2 separate regions of the Homo sapiens genome follow, and region 1 is linked to region 2. The links are contacts of gene promoters, found by promoter capture Hi-C in human tissues and cell types (Jung and others, 2019). All regions are on one chromosome and are shown on one strand. Each heading gives the region's core, a stretch centred on a gene start or on the middle of the fragment in contact. The rest is flanking DNA. Distances are from core to core; before and after follow the strand shown.

The links. Contacts are between HindIII fragments. The study calls those that stand out against the background at their distance.
Region 1: a contact is called between a fragment that was not itself captured here and the fragment with the promoter of BIN2 in region 2, in 6 of the 25 tissues and cell types used here (aorta, hippocampus, lymphoblastoid cells and 3 more).

Annotation. Positions count from the first base shown.
Region 1 is chr12:51,242,470-51,248,050 of GRCh38, reverse strand. It overlaps SMAGP (small cell adhesion glycoprotein), which reads left to right. Exons shown (of 4, transcript NM_001031628.2): 3 at 1,220-1,300; 4 at 1,932-3,493. The coding sequence ends at 2,110. It overlaps DAZAP2 (DAZ associated protein 2), which reads right to left. Exons shown (of 4, transcript NM_014764.4): 4 at 4,118-5,581. Among named protein-coding and RNA genes, the nearest start is that of DAZAP2, 6.4 kb to the right of the region's middle. RefSeq lists enhancers at 1-100, 101-602. The HindIII fragment of the contact is 4,727 bases long and covers 1-4,045 here.
Region 2 is chr12:51,321,081-51,326,732 of GRCh38, reverse strand. It overlaps BIN2 (bridging integrator 2), which reads left to right and starts at 2,559. Exons shown (of 13, transcript NM_016293.4): 1 at 2,559-2,711. The coding sequence starts at 2,631. It overlaps LOC105369767 (a long non-coding RNA gene), which reads left to right and starts at 2,725. Exons shown (of 2, transcript XR_944957.3): 1 at 2,725-3,005; 2 at 3,530-4,365. RefSeq lists a silencer at 2,324-2,813 and an enhancer at 2,844-3,033. The HindIII fragment of the contact is 13,760 bases long and covers 1-5,652 here.

The DNA.
Region 1 (5,581 bases), core at 433-2,932, 78 kb after region 2:
CTCAGAGCTTTGACCCAGGCTCTTCTCTCTGCCTAGAATGTGCCCCATCCCTGTTACCCGGTAAACTCTTACCCCTGCTTCAGCTCCCAGGTCAGATATTCCTCCCTTGGGGGGTCGCTTCTGGCTGGAAGACTAGATCAGGCCCCTCGGCTGCACACTTTCCTAAGTGCACTTACAGCAGCTCCTCACCGTGCAAGCTGTGGGGTGCAGTGGAGGGTGAGCCTCGGGAAGCTGGCCGTGTCTGTTTTGCTCGACCTTTCATCTAGCACAGGGCCTAGCAAAGAGGAGGCAGTGGGTGAGTGTTGCTGTTTATGGGATGCCAGTCAGGTCGGGGTGCCTCCTGTGGGTGTTGCCAGGATCAGCCAGCTGGTTTTCCCCAGGAGACCTCTATCCTGCAGTAACCTCTACATTAAAATGCTAATAGGAAAGAATGGAAGGGCTTCCTGACTTCCTGTGTAAACACTTAAAAGGGACTTCTGGAGACCACTCATTTTGTCATGTTCTGTCCCTGGGTAATGACTTTAGGGTGGGACTTTCACGCTCTGAAGGATAAATAAACCCGTAGCAGGAGGGGGTGCAGGATCTATTTTAGGGTAGAGGAGAGGCCTGTTTCAGAACCTTTCAAATTGCAGGGCCTATCCTGGAAGTGTAGAAAAGGGTTTTTAATAGGAGAGGAGCACTATTTCATTATGTTAAAATAATGTTTACAAAGAATTAGTAAGAATGCTGCAAGAAAATGCACATGCTATATAATATAATGTAAATATATACACATACAACTCATTTGATCTCACTTATTGTAAAAATATGCATTCCTAATAATGGCTTATCCTACTGAGTGACTTATTAAATGTCACAACAACGTTTTAAAGTAGGTACTCTTACCTCCATTTTGCAGATAGAGGTTAGGTAATTTTCCCAAGGTCACACAGCTAGTAAAGGACAGAGTTCATATTTGAAACCCAGTCTGTCAGGCTCTATAGCCCCTACTCTTAATCACTATATTATGCAGGGAGAAATCCATCAACATATTGTCTTTGGGTGGTGGTTTATTTTCTTCTTTATTCTCTAGGATTTTCTATTTGGATATACTCTAGGAGTTAAATGATAAACTTTTGAATAGGGAAGAAGGTGGGGTGGTGAAATTTGAAGGCCAAACATATGCTTTCAAACAAAAGAATTCACTCCATTTCCTTTTCCACTTTTCTACATTTTCCAGAAGAACTGATGACCACCCCAATTTTACAGCCCACTGAGGCCCTGTCCCCAGAAGATGGAGCCAGCACAGCACTCATTGCAGGTAATAGACTCTGAGCCAACTCCAAGGGACCTTCTGGATCAAGGGCATCTCTCTCCAGAGGGAGCCTGACCAAATCCATTAATGGGCTCACTCTGGCTTGTAAGTTATATTACACACACACACACACACACACACACACACACACAGCCATAAAAGACTCGGAGGCTTCTGTCAGAGGCACTACCAGTAAATGACAGGTTGGGAGGTGGCCGCAAATAGATATGCATACGGACGTTACACTTGAGTACGTGGGTAGGGACGAGGATATATGTGGTTGGTTGAGTGGGTGAGGAAGAGGGGGAGGATCAGATAAACCACTTCCTGTTAGGATAAGCCATTTCCTGTTCCCTCCTTCCCGTTTCTTTAAGAATCAGGAACTGGTTTGGGAGGCAGTTCAGTTTTGTCAGAAATCAAAAGCATGTGTCCTTAGCTTAAGCACCAGGAGACTCCAGCTATTATGTGCCATGGAAATTGGGGTTGGTGGGGGAACATGGGTTTGGATGGAAGTGGACACTAGTTAATGAAAACAAGAGGATCTTTACGAAAACAGTGACTAAATCAGATGACTCCAGGAACTACTGAGACATCCTCAATCCTGAAACATCTCTACATTTTCCCTCTCCTTTCCAAGTTGTTATCACCGTTGTCTTCCTCACCCTGCTCTCGGTCGTGATCTTGATCTTCTTTTACCTGTACAAGAACAAAGGCAGCTACGTCACCTATGAACCTACAGAAGGTGAGCCCAGTGCCATCGTCCAGATGGAGAGTGACTTGGCCAAGGGCAGCGAGAAAGAGGAATATTTCATCTAATGACTCCCAGGCCCCAAGGAGCTTATTCCTGGCTCCATCGCTAACACGTTGACTGCTTATTATGGGAAAGTTTTCTCTGAAGCCAGGGAGAAGCATTGATTGATGTGGGCAAATCCAAGCTCCAGCCAGGTCGCAGTCCCAAATGCCGACATCACTGACTCCAGGGACCAGGGACATGGAGAAAGCTGTTTATGATATCTTTAACCAGGCCCTCTTACTAGAGCTGGTGTTTGTGACTGGCCAACAAGATGTGGCTATGCCAGGGGACATCTGAGTATGTGCCCAGTCATCTTTTTTCACAGGTTGAAGGGAGAGAAAAGATTTTGAGTTAAGGTCATTGGCTGCTCTACTCTGTCCCCTACCTGGTCACCTAGTGATAGCCCCAGTGGAGATACTGTCCATACAAGGTCTTCCCAGAGGCTGGATACCACAGTAAAAGGCCAGGCCAGGAGGGGTAGGAGACTATGGAGATCTTACCTCCTGATAAATGTGCTACACCCCCTAATCTGAGCCCTTCCTTTCCGTGTTCCCCAACAACCTCATGCTTACGTGATTTTTATTCAAATTAAAAATTTTCATTGCTACAGAAATCAGATTCTCATGTGCAAGAAGTAACTACATTTTGACTTATTTTTGCTTAAACATTTTTGACATTTTCTTTTCCCTATTTAACGCCTTTACATATGTTCTCTTCCAAGCAATAAGAACCCTAGGAAAGTTCTAGAAGTTTGCAGAACTATCTCAGGGATTTGAGACAAAGATGGTGCAGGAAAGCTTGTTCCAGGGGAACATCATTAGAAACATACCCTGGGAGGGCCGGGTTCGGTGGCTCACGCCTGTGATCCCAGCACTTTGGGAGGCCGAGGCAGGCGGATCACAAGGTTAGGAGATCGAGACCATCCTGGCTAACACGGTGAAACCCCGTCTCTACTAAAAATATATAAAAAAAATAGCTGGGCGTGGTGGCGGGCGCCCATAGTCCCAGCTGCTTGGGAGGCTGAGGCAGGAGAATGGCTTGAACCCAGGAGGCGGAGCTTGCAGTGAGCTGAGATTGCACCACTATACTCCAGCCTGGGCAACAGAGTGAGACTCCGTCTCAAAAAAAAAAAAAAAAAAAAAAGTACCCTGGGAGATGAGTTGGTTCAAGCCTCCATCCTGGCAAGGGCCAGAATTTCCCAGAATCCCTTCTACATATATACAGAAGGAACCAGAAAAAATCAACCTACCACCTTTCCCAGTGTATCCTCAGAATCAAGCCAAGAAGCTTCTTGGATTTTAGTCTCAAGATAAGTTGTGTTTAAAAGGCACATTTTGGTATAAATTATTAGCTCATCAGATATTGTTCACTTTGGAATTAAAGCTAGATCTCCTTTGAAGTCTTAATGTATTGCCTCTGTTGTCCAAGCTCAAACCCAACCAAGTTAAGATCAAGAGCTGAGGAATCTGGCTGGGTGCAGTGACTCACTGCCTGTTATCCCAATACTTTGGGAGGCTGAGGCAGACAGATCACTTGAGGTCAGGAGTTTGAGACCAGCGTGGCCAACGCAGTGAAGCCGTCTCTACTAAAAGTACAGAAATGAACCAGGTGTTGTAGCAGGTGCCTGTAATCCCAGCTACTCAGGAGGCTGAGACAGGAGAATCACTTGAACCCGGGAGGTGGAGGTTGCAGTGAGCAGACACTGCCACTGCACTCCAGCCCGGGTGACAGAGGGAGACCCTGTCTCAAAAAATAAATAAAAGAGCTGAGGAATCTATCTTGGCAACCTAGATTCTATGAGTTTTCAGTATTTCTCCACATAGAACATTGGAGAAACTAAAGGTCATCCTCAACGTATACAAATTGCTATACCAGAACCTTTTCTTCAAGCCAAACTTTAGAGCAAGTTAGGAGAATCAATAGTTCCCTCATTTCTAAGTTTAGGTCCGAAATTCCAAAATTTGTAAGAGGTTGGAGTAAAATGATGAAAAGTTGAACATCTGGAATGGAATTCATGAAATGATCAAGTCTTAGGCTTGTACTCCTGCCTTTATTTCAAAGCGTCATCAAAGGAAACAGAGCAGCAGCAGCACCTAGCTGAATTCTAGATGGGATATAAATAAAATATATATAGAAGAAATCTAAAAACAAGCTAAGTAAAGAATCCTTGCAGTGAGGTGTAATGCAACTTCATCACTTTATTCAAATCTTCAAAATAGTCTTTATTCTACATTTTTAGTATAAAAATTCCACAAGTTAAGTGCACCACAGTGTAGAGAGAGACATACAACGCTGAACTTCCATAACAGTCAATGGTACAGTCAAACATCACATGTACAGAACACACAATTTAGATGAACTGAAATTATAAGATAAAATAAAATAAAATCCAATTTCAGAAAACAAAAATCAAAACATTAAGGATCCCTGAAATATTCTTAAACCCTAATGAGATTTCACTGGACTCAAGTCATTTTGTAGTGAGACATTCACAATATGACCCTATTAACCCAGTCTAGGAATTCTGGGGAGCCGAATGAGTGGCCGCATCAGACACTCTGACAAAAAATGGTAACCAGTTTTTGATCTGAAAACTCCTCTTAATTTAGCTCTGAACACATCAATCAAGCTTTTGAAATGCATCCTCCTCCTTGCCCCTCATATTTTAAACCAACTGTTGTTCACAGTACAGTTTGCACGACATCTTTGTTCAAACATAGCTCAGTTTTTCTGGCACCAAAGCAAATTTGGGTTAGGTTCGTGTATGCAGAGACAACCTATGAGGAGGGCCCATAAGGCACCCTCCACTTTTGCCTGAGGAGATACGAAAGCAGAAGTAATGGCATCTGTACTTGGGGCACAGAGAGGGTTTCAGAGGATCCTTGTGAAACACTAGTTAAAAGATGACGAGTGGGGAGAAGTGCGAGGAAAGAAGGAAATTAGTCTGACTGGCTTTCTGTCCTGCACCATTGATTCAATGGAGACTGGCGGGAGGAAATGGAAGACTAGGGTTGGAGATGGGATGGGTGGGGCAAGGGATGGAAAGGAAAAGGCAGACAACTAATGCGTTCCATTTATAACAAGTAATATATATCAAAGACTTAAAGGAGATTAAAGACCAATCAGAATAATTTGGCAACTTTAATTCTTAGGAAGATCAAAGTTCCCTCCAAACCTAATTTGATGTTTTATTACTAAAAGCAAAGACCAGTATGGTACAGTATTACTCCAGAGAAATTAAAGGAAAATCCTTAGGGCGGCTTCACCCACATTCATTTTATGAATGGATACCTCCCCTACCTCAAAATGCTTTAGGGAGGTACTGCTACCATTACATGGTTCCTTATTAAATTTGAAAAGTGCCTGAAAGTTTGGGCACCAGAAAGACACCCCAACAACATGTGTCTAAACTGCAACTTCAGGTTAATATGACTAAAGCAGTTACATTGTGAGAAGTGCTGAAGGTATGTGATGTCTTTCCCGGCACAGAGGTG
Region 2 (5,652 bases), core at 1,310-3,809:
TCAGCAGAGGCCTCTAGAACACTCCATGTGCTATAAGAGGCTGAGTCTGTTCCCATCCCAGTTCCACCACTGAGGAGCTGGGTGGCTGTGGTCAAGTCATCAGCCCTTTCTGTGACTCAATTTCCCTATCTAATTAACTTCTAAGGGTTGTTTCTTCTCTAACACTACATGATTTGGTGACCATCAATTTCAGTTTGCAAGATATTGGCACTAAACAGAGTTTCTTAGGAGACAGTGGCTGGGTTGCATTGCTGAGGATGCCATGTAGTCCTGGCAGGGACACAGGTACTGGCCTCCTTCTGCCAGTGACACACCTGTTAGCATTGCCATCTACTCTCAGTGTTCCCGCAGTACTGCTATTCTCCATGCTTCTCCCCACTTCTCCCCATCCAATATCAAGTCCTTCTATTTTCATCACCCTGCCTCTTCCAGGGCATCACCAAAGCTAACATCCAGAATAAACCCTAATCGCCTGGCAGGGCAAGGTGGTTCACACCTGTAATCCCAGCCCTTTGGGAGGCTGAGGCGGGTGGATTGCTTGAGCTCAAGAGTTCCAGATCAGCCTGGGTAGCCAGGAGTGGTGGCATGCACGCACCTTAGTCCCAGCTACTCAGGAGGCTGAGGTGAGACCATCACTTGGGCCTGGGAGGTAGAGGCTGCAGTGAGCCCTGATGGCACTGCTGCACTCCAGCCTGGCAACAAAGCAAGACCCTGTCTCCAAACAAACAAACAAACAAACAAACCCTAATCACCTATTCCCAGAAAATTTTGTATCCATCTCTACAAATAAATTAAGCACATTACATTAGAATCACCTGATTACCCACCTATCTCCACTTCCAGACTTTAAGCATCTTTATTTATGTACTTATTTATTAATACTTATTCTTTATTGGTTGAGAAAGGGCCTCACGCTTTGCCCAGGCTGGAATGCAGTGGCACCATCAGGGCTCACTGCAGCCTCCACCTCCCTTGGCTCGGGTGATCCTCCCACCTCAGCCTCCCTGATAGCTGGGACTACAGGTGTGTGCCACCACGCCCAATTAATTTTTGTATTTTTAGCAGAGAGAAGGTCTTGCTATGTTGCGCAGGCTAGTCTCAAACTCCTGGGCTCAAGCAATCTGCCTGCCTCAGCCTCCTAAAGTGTTGGGATTACAGGTGTGAGCCGTGGTGCCCGGCCAGACTTCATTAAGCATCTTAAGGTCAGGGACTGCATTTTATTCATCCTTGTTTCAGAACACCCAGCAATGCCTGGTACACAGTTGACCTTGAGTGCAGTAATGATTGTTTTGGAGAAAGAAGAGGAACACAGTAGCATACAAGGGCCTCTAATTTTGTGTCAGGCCCTATCTTCCCCCTCCACTCCTTAGGAAGTGTTATTTTGACCTTCTTCCCTGCCTTGAGGAAATTTTAACCTGCACTGTAAAATCTGAGTACGTGGTTCCTCCACACCTAGTGTCCTAATCTCAAGCTATCCCCTCAAACAGGTCAGGGAGGAATTTTTTGGAGAACTTCTCCCTAAAGAAACAATAGTTGTCATCTCAACAGCCGCACCCCAATTTGCACAATCTGTGTCTGTGTTCACATTCTGCCTCCATCCAGTACACTGTACTCCAACTAGAAAAACTTGCTCCTCATGCTCAGCACGGGCGTCCATACTATCCTCCTCAGCCTTTTTTCAATGTGATCATTCTCTTGCCTAAGAACCAGCCCCCTACCCTGTTTCTATCTCCAGCTTAGTTGTTCCTCATTTATTTATTTATTTATTTATTTATTTATTTATTTATTTGAGACGAACTGTCGCTCTGTCGCCCAGGCTGGAATGCAGTGGCGCGATTTCGGCTCACTGCAACCTCTGCCTCCCGGGTTCAAACAATTCTCCTGCGTCATCCTCTCGAGTAGCTGGGACTGCAGGCGTGCGCCACCACACCCAGCTAATTTTTGTATTTTTAGTAGCGACGCGGTTTCACCGTATTGGTCAGGCTGATCTCCTAACCTCAGGCGATCCACCCGCCTCGGCCTCCCAAAGTGCTAGGATTACAGGCGTGAGCCACCGCGCCCGGCCTGTTTCTCTCTTTCAAGCCCGGCTCGGGTGTCCTGCCTGCTTTCTGCACTCTATCCCTACCAGTTCCAGGCTTAGAGCCTACCTGGAGCAAGAAACGCAGTGTACATGGCGGCTTCGCATGCATACTCAGAGAACCTAAACGTGTTTTCGATATGGTAGGTCCTCTCGCTGAGTGGAACCCACATCATTTTCTACCCTGCGGTGGCAGTTGCTTTGCAGTGCTCAGCGTGATGGGAACTGGCTTTCCGGAGCGAGTGAGTGTGGGCCCACCACTGAGGACCTGGTTCAGTGAGGCCGAGGTTTCGGGCAGGGGTTGGAGCTCGGAAGCTGGCCTCGAGCGAGCGCTGCCTGAGGGTAGGCCCCGGGCCCGCCCCTCCGAGCCGGCCTGCTCCAGCTGACAGTGGTGGGCTGAGGGGCGGGCCTCAGGGCTGGCCAGGGGCGGCCTGAGGTGGCTCAGGGCTGGGGCCGGATGCGAGGCATGCCGGGAGCCCGCACTTCCTCCTCGGGGGCCTCAGAAAACCACAGGGCGCGGGGCCAGGGCGGCGGCCCCCAGGGAGTTGGCAGGATGGCAGAGGGCAAGGCAGGCGGCGCGGCCGGCCTCTTCGCCAAGCAGGTGCAGAAGAAGTTTAGCAGGGCCCAGGAGAAGGTAGGTGGCCGGGCCTCGCTGTCTGTCTGGCCCACAGGGAGCCGAGGCCGAGGCCGAGCCCGGCCGGGCAGGAGGGGCGGGCAGGGTGCTCAGGGGCCCCGAAGGGTCTGGGCTGACGAGAAGGGTCTCCCGCTCTCCCAGGGAAACGGGAGCGAGGAGTGGGCTTCCATGAAAACTGGCAGATTGGAGAGAGGTCGGAGACCGCCACCCGATCTTGGGCAAGGATAAGGGAAGCTGGGGAGACAACAGTCTCTGGGCAGAACCTTCGACAACCCTCAGGCTGACCCAGAAAAGGTGAAAGAAAGGAAGTGATGGTGGTGGCCACCTTTGTATCAAATTTTGTGCTAGCAATCCAAAATTGGTATTTTACAGATGATGAAATTGGAGGGTAATTTTCCATAGAGGGCAATTTCCCCAAAAACAGCGATGCAGCGGATGCCAGCAGGCACCCCCCACCAAAGGCTTAGAATAATCCTGCATAGTTCTCCCCCTACCTGACCCTGCCTGGCCTCTGGGTGGTGTTTCAGCTGACGTAAGCAGGAGCCCAAATCTGCTTCTTCTACCCTCCCTTTGGCGTTGGGGAGTACACCTCCCAGGGTGATGAACCACATCTGTGTTCAGAGTGTGTCCTTGGTTAGTGTCAGGTAGCCCTGCTCCAGCACTGGCACTTAGGTGGGCTGCCCATCTATTACTTGCTTGGCAATCTAAATTGTGGGGACATTCTCTACACATTTTGATGGCATTTTTGTTTCTACCTGTACAGAATATTTTCTTTGCTTCTAACCTGAGCCTCTGCTCTCCACCTACCAACCCTCTAGTAGACAAGGCGGTTTGGGAAGACATGTCAGCCAGAAGAAAGAGCGAGGGAAGAAAGACAAGAAGGACCTGAGATAGAGTTTCGGTTTTCCTTTTTTTCTCTCTCTCTTTATTAAGCCCAACCTGCCTTCTACAACGGAGAAGTTTTGGTTTTCTAAGAGCTGATGGACTTAGAAGCATTTGGATGAACAGCTCTGCTTACCAACTGAAATATCCCTATTATCTTCTAAAAGTGGAGCACTGCTTTGAGCCCTGGGAAGGCTTAAAGGCAACCAGCTCTCCCGAGTTGATTTATCAGCAGAAAACTGATGGAATGTAGATGTAGCTCCTGACTTTAAGAGACCACAATGGAAGGGAGGTTATTTTCTATCATTTGAGGTCATGTGAAAGAGAGGAGGAAAAGGGAAAGAGTTCGTGTAGCCAGACTTCGTTACTTCACTTACCCTAACTTCACCTTGATCCTAGTTTCAGCCTCTCTGAAGACTTACAAATCTGGTAGACCCGAGAGCAGGGCCTATGGGAAGGTCTAGCTCGAAACAGTGTGGGCGAGCAGGAGGTACTGGAGAGAAGGCCACACTGTGGTTGAAAAAAAAAAAAACCCTAAAAGACAAAACACTCATGAATGATAGTAATTTTAAAAAGACATACCAGCCAGGCACAGTGGCTCACTCCTGTAATCCCAGCACTTTGGGAGGCCAAGGTGGGAGGACTGCTTGAGCCCAGGAGATCAAGACTGCAGTGAGCAGTGATCACACCACACCACACTCAAGCAGAGGGAGACTCTGTCTCAAAAAATAAAAATAAATACATAAAAATAAAAGACATACAATTGATTGTATTTCACTCTTGCATCTTCTGTCTTCATCTAGCCTCTCGTCAACACTAAAACCTTGCTTTGGGCTTTCACTCCTTTGTAAGCATAGACTCCAAACCTTGGCTAAATAATGTCCTGCTCTGGGCTTCAGATCTTGCACCTGTAAAATGAGAGGGTTGATGTTCTTGATGAAACTCAATATGGTAAGAACACTAAATTGAAAAGCTGTCACATTAGACTCAGAGTCAAATACTTCCCAAAGACAGAACCAGTCTCTCAGGTTCTTCTGGCCTGAACCCTGAGGAAGTAGAGAAAGAGGAGCAAACTCAAATCTGCCATGAGGAATTCCCAGCTGATGAAGAAAACAAGATATTCTGAACCTAGACTAGACAAAAGGGTAGGCAAAGGTTGAACTTCGATAAGGTGGGAATGGCCTGGGATGCCGGAAGGGAGCTCAGCTCCGTCAGCCTGAAGCCAGTCCTTGAGTCTTGGGAAGTTATTGAGACCAAGATAAAGAGGGAGAAATTTGCACTAAAATGAAAGAATTCCTTGCAACACTTTTTGCTTTTTCTGCAAGCAGTTGGATGTAATCTTCTGAGTAATAAGTAATAGCTAATGTGTCAAATAGTGAAATGTGTCAAATATCAAGCGCCTATTATGGACCAGAGACAGGGATATAAGAAAGTGATTATCAGCGGGGTGCAGTGGCTCACGCCTGTAATCCCAGCACTTTGGGAGGCCCAGGCAGGTGGATCTCCTGAGGTCGGGAGTTCGAGACCAGCCTGACCAACATGGAGAAACCCCGTCTCTACTAAAAATACAAAATCAGCCGGGTGTGGTGGCGCATGCCTGTAATCCCAGCTACTCAGGAGGCTGAGGCAGGAGAATCGCTTGAACCTGGGAGGCGGAGGTTGCCGTGAGCCGAGATCGCGCCATTGCACTCCAACTTGTGCAACAAGAGCAAAACTCTGTCTCAAAAAAAAAAAAGACAAAGTGATTCTCTCTCCCTTTATGGAGCCAACATTCTACCGATGTCATCTCCCTTCATCTATTCAACACTTTAAGCAGGTTATTAGCATCTCTGTTTTAGAAATAAGGAAACAAGGCTCAAAAGAGATTGGTAGGTAGCAGAAATATTACTGAAACCCAGGTGTCCTGCCTCTGAATCCTAACCTCACTCAGGCTGCTGCTTTACAACGTTCCTGATAAGCCACTCTCACATCTGTGCCTCCCCCACTTCCTGCTGATCCTCTCTCAGGAACAGAGCTCAGAAGTAGAAACACTTTTTGTTCAGGCATCCTCTGAAAAGCT